Linked DNA regions of Homo sapiens: region 1 is linked to region 2. Evidence: promoter capture Hi-C in 16 types of primary human blood cells and fetal thymus (Javierre and others, 2016). All regions are on one chromosome and are shown on one strand. The core of a region is centred on a gene start or on the middle of the fragment in contact, and the rest is flanking DNA. Distances in the headings are between cores, read along the strand shown. Region 1 holds the start of RXFP3 (relaxin family peptide receptor 3). Region 2 holds the start of SLC45A2 (solute carrier family 45 member 2).

Region 1 (2,700 bases), core at 63-2,562, 48 kb before region 2:
TTTCTCTTTCTTTCTTTTTCTGTTTCTTATCTCCTCAGCTTGAAGGTTGCATCCTCTTTATCTCCTTAAGTAAAGCTGGGAGTTCTGTAGTACTCCAGGAGTGAGGACAATTATGCTTAAGAAACTTTGGTTTCAGTTTAGTCCCAGACCAAGAGGAAAACATTTCAAAATTTTAAAGTAAATCCTAAAAGTGTAATTTACACCAGAGCGATTGACCTGGCATTTATGTAGACTGAAGCTTGAGAAGTAATTCAAGTGGTTTCCACTCATTCCCTTGGAAGAGTCCTTAGAATGTACTTCCATTGGTCTGAAAAACGCCTGAAAAAGAGTCCTGATGCTAACAGTAATGGAAATAGGAGGGCTGGTGGTTCACGATCAGCCCAGTGGTATCCTCTATTCTATTTGCATCTAGGTAAAGAGACTGTGGCCTGTATGTGATCAAACAATTTGTTGAAGCGCTTTGGGCTTAGGGCATTTAATTTCTGTGAAGTAGGACCATCAGTTGTTTGCTCTGTTTTTGTGTCACCTCTCAGAATACATTAAAGTAGGGGCAACCCTTGAGCCCAGACTTCTGCCATGTGAAGACCCTTTGAAAATCCTGACAAACACAGGTACTGCGTAAGTGGTCAGCTAATTAAAGAGGGGAGGTGGAGCTGTCCTTTGTGTATCCAATAAGTACCCATTATCTCATTTGAGCATGAAAAGAGGCCACTGTTATTACTTTCAAGAAGGAAAGTAAGCAGGATAGCTCATATTTTTAGAACAATTCCTCACCAAATGGAATAATTCCGGTGAAAAGTGGGAGTGAGGAAGAAAGAAAAAAAAAACTTCTAATCATAATGTTTGGGAATAAGAAAGGAAGAAGAAACTCACGTCAAAGCCGACTTTCTCCTGCAGCTGTAAAATAAACTCTTAAGACCCTTCCTGCTGAAACTCTGGAGAGGAAAACTGGAGTGGCGGGTGGGCTTTGCCTGCAGCTCAACTCTCCCTCGCGGCGCGGGCGCGGCTGGGTTCAGCACCTCGGAAAGCGCCCCTCGCGGCGCCCCGGGATTACGCATGCTCCTTGGGGCCCGCCGCCTTGGCCGTGCAAGTGCCACCGTAACTGGTGAGAGCCGCTGGCAACCCACCCGGAGTTGACAACCGCGGAGAGACGCAGACACCCACTGACCTCCAGGAAGCTGAGCGTGGTGGATGGAACTCTACGATCTCTTTCTCTCCAAGGACGGAAACCTCATCCAAGCAGTCCCAGAGGAAACGGATAAAGGTATTTGAAAGGGAGCGAGCGGCCCCAAATCGCACAATTGAGCGGCTGGGGGAGTTATGCGCCAGTGCCCCAGTGACCGCGGGACACGGAGAGGGGAAGTCTGCGTTGTACATAAGGACCTAGGGACTCCGAGCTTGGCCTGAGAACCCTTGGACGCCGAGTGCTTGCCTTACGGGCTGCACTCCTCAACTCTGCTCCAAAGCAGCCGCTGAGCTCAACTCCTGCGTCCAGGGCGTTCGCTGCGCGCCAGGACGCGCTTAGTACCCAGTTCCTGGGCTCTCTCTTCAGTAGCTGCTTTGAAAGCTCCCACGCACGTCCCGCAGGCTAGCCTGGCAACAAAACTGGGGTAAACCGTGTTATCTTAGGTCTTGTCCCCCAGAACATGACCTAGAGGTACCTGCGCATGCAGATGGCCGATGCAGCCACGATAGCCACCATGAATAAGGCAGCAGGCGGGGACAAGCTAGCAGAACTCTTCAGTCTGGTCCCGGACCTTCTGGAGGCGGCCAACACGAGTGGTAACGCGTCGCTGCAGCTTCCGGACTTGTGGTGGGAGCTGGGGCTGGAGTTGCCGGACGGCGCGCCGCCAGGACATCCCCCGGGCAGCGGCGGGGCAGAGAGCGCGGACACAGAGGCCCGGGTGCGGATTCTCATCAGCGTGGTGTACTGGGTGGTGTGCGCCCTGGGGTTGGCGGGCAACCTGCTGGTTCTCTACCTGATGAAGAGCATGCAGGGCTGGCGCAAGTCCTCTATCAACCTCTTCGTCACCAACCTGGCGCTGACGGACTTTCAGTTTGTGCTCACCCTGCCCTTCTGGGCGGTGGAGAACGCTCTTGACTTCAAATGGCCCTTCGGCAAGGCCATGTGTAAGATCGTGTCCATGGTGACGTCCATGAACATGTACGCCAGCGTGTTCTTCCTCACTGCCATGAGTGTGACGCGCTACCATTCGGTGGCCTCGGCTCTGAAGAGCCACCGGACCCGAGGACACGGCCGGGGCGACTGCTGCGGCCGGAGCCTGGGGGACAGCTGCTGCTTCTCGGCCAAGGCGCTGTGTGTGTGGATCTGGGCTTTGGCCGCGCTGGCCTCGCTGCCCAGTGCCATTTTCTCCACCACGGTCAAGGTGATGGGCGAGGAGCTGTGCCTGGTGCGTTTCCCGGACAAGTTGCTGGGCCGCGACAGGCAGTTCTGGCTGGGCCTCTACCACTCGCAGAAGGTGCTGCTGGGCTTCGTGCTGCCGCTGGGCATCATTATCTTGTGCTACCTGCTGCTGGTGCGCTTCATCGCCGACCGCCGCGCGGCGGGGACCAAAGGAGGGGCCGCGGTAGCCGGAGGACGCCCGACCGGAGCCAGCGCCCGGAGACTGTCGAAGGTCACCAAATCAGTGACCATCGTTGTCCTGTCCTTCTTCCTGTGTTGGCTGCCCAACCAGGCGC
Region 2 (2,700 bases), core at 121-2,620:
TATACACGTTTTAAAAATTGCAGTATAAAATTAAATGAACAATAAGTCTACCCGCCACTTCTCACCTCCTGTCCTTCAGTAATCCTCCTTAGAGTCAACAATGCTTATCAGCTTTTTGTTCATTCTCCTGGAAATATCCTACATTTGTACATTTACGCTTTCTTTCAAATATGTACAAATGATAATTGATTATCCTGCCTCATAATCACCGATTCTGCTAGCTTGAGAGTTAATGATCTACAAATGTGTGCTATTTTTAGCGATCCTTTTTGCAATGCAACTTTATTGTACTACCATCAATTACTGATTAATTGGTAGCTGATTAATGGCTAGAAAAAATGCCTACCCTCAGGTTTGCTTTTGTCCAGAATTTGCAATGCCAGAAAGGTCCTCTTGAGCTGATGGGCTTATGCCCTACGCCTATTAAAACGCTCTACATAAAACTATGAACAGAATTAACTTATTTGGATACACAGGTGACTTATTGTAAATATTTATGGAGCTATTTGGCAGCCAGTCAATTTGATAAGAGTATTAAATAGAGCATAATGGGCTCAAAAAGTAACTCAATTGATAAATATGTAAAAATATTCAATTCGATAAAATAGATACAAATTTAATAAAATAGATACAAATTTAATCCTATTTTTAAATCTTCACAACAATGAAACATATTTATTTTGATATTTCTAGAAGTAGAGGCTCCCCAACCACAGAATCTGGGCCAAATTTGTCAAAGGGGAAGTTCATTGTAACCTAGGAGAGATCAATTCTAACAAATTTCTAGGAAAGGTCAAACACATGAACATCCTCCTCCTGCAGAGGTACACACTAAGACACATATCCCTGTCTGCCCACCTTGTGCAGCCCACTTACCTGCTACAACAGTAGCCCCATTGAGGTACAGAGCCATGCCCACGAGCATCATGACTCCCAGGGTGAGGATGTAGGGTCTCCGGCGGCCCCACCTGGACCGGCAGTGGTCGCTGGCCGATCCGACCACGGGCTGCAGCAGGAATCCCAGGATGGGGCTGAGGAACCACACAATGCTGTACAGGCTGCTGGGCAGACCTACGCTGAGCAGGACTGGGGTCACATACGCTGCCTCCACCGCGTAGCAGAACTCTCTTCCGAACATGGCCATGCTGTGCATGATGAGTCTGCTGGTGGGTCTTTTAGGCGGCTCCACAGAGTCAAAGGGGCCATCATCAGCTAGGGATTTATAGATGTGGCGGCCAGCCTGCCCACTGTTGCTACCCATGGCCACTGGGAGAGGAACCTTCCTGCGAGCCCACCACCTCCTGCGTGGTCCTAGGGTCTGTGTTTCAAACTGGATTTGACGTGGAGCCTGGCCGAGCAACCAACAGAGATGGTCAGGCTGGGGGAGGGGCTCAAATTCTTTCCTGCCTCTAAGATCACAAGTTATGATGAGAGGGAGGGGGTGGTGCTGGAAAGCATGACAGAGATTAGCAGCTGTGAATCAGCCCTCTGGCTCCATAAGACGTTGGAATACTTTTCTAAAGGGATCCTCCTTTGTACTGTTCCCTCTCTCTTTCTCTCTCTCTCACACACACACACAATTACACGTGATCACACACATGGCTTCTCTCCCTCTCACACACACGTTATTACACGTGATCACACACATGGGCTCTCTCAGACAGTATTACACATGATCACACACATGGTTTCTCTCTCACACACACATGCTATTACACATGATCACACACGTGGCTTCTCTCACACACACATTATTACACATGATCACACACATGGCTTCTCTCACACACACGCTATTAAACGTGATCACACCTGGCTTCTCACACACACATGCTATTACACATGATCACACACGGCTTCTCACACACATGCTATTACACATGATCACACACATGGCTTCTCTCACACACATTACACATGATCACACATGGTTTCTCACATACATGCTATTACACATGATCACACACGGCTTCTCTCATGCATGTTATTACACATGATCATACACATGGCTTCTCACACACATGCTATTACACATGATCACACATGGCTTCTCTCACACACATTACACATGGTCACACATGGCTTCTCTCACATGCGTTATTACACATGATCATACATGGCTTCTCTCTCACATGCTATTACACATGATCACACATGGCTTCTCATGCATTTTATTACACATGACCACACACATGGCTTCTCTCACACACGTTATTACACATGGTCACACATGGCTTCTCTCACGTTATTACACATGATCATACATGGCTTCTCTCACACATTATTACACATGACAGCTTCTCTCTCACACACTATTGCACATGATCACACATGGCTTCTCTCACACACACATGCTATTGCACATGATCACACATGGTTTCTCTCTCACACACGTTATTACACAACGATCACACACGGCTTCTCTCTCATACACATTATTACACATGACCACACACATGGCTTTTCTCTCACACACACTATTACACATGATCACACATGGGGCTTTTCTCGTTATTACACATGATCGGACTCATGGCTTCTCTCACACACACATGCTATTACACATGATTGCACACATAGCTTCTCTCTCACACACGTGTTATTACACATCACACACGGCTTCTCACACACGTTATTTTACACGATCACACACATGGCTTCTCTCACACACGTTATTTTACATGATCACACACATGGCTT

Evidence for each region. Contacts are between HindIII fragments. The CHiCAGO score rates a contact against its expected background, and 5 or more counts as called.
Region 1: the fragment with the promoter of RXFP3 here is called in contact with the fragment with the promoter of SLC45A2 in region 2 in 13 of 17 cell types (neutrophils, activated CD4 T cells, naive CD8 T cells and 10 more); the score reaches 18.3 in neutrophils.

What each region holds. Positions count from the first base shown.
Region 1 is chr5:33,935,074-33,937,773 of GRCh38, forward strand. It overlaps RXFP3 (relaxin family peptide receptor 3), which reads left to right and starts at 1,313. Exons shown (of 1, transcript NM_016568.3): 1 at 1,313-2,700. The coding sequence starts at 1,668. The HindIII fragment of the contact is 5,701 bases long and covers 237-2,700 here.
Region 2 is chr5:33,983,323-33,986,022 of GRCh38, forward strand. SLC45A2 (solute carrier family 45 member 2) reads right to left here and starts at 1,371. Exons shown (of 7, transcript NM_016180.5): 1 at 877-1,371. The coding sequence starts at 1,261. The HindIII fragment of the contact is 8,753 bases long and covers 1-2,700 here.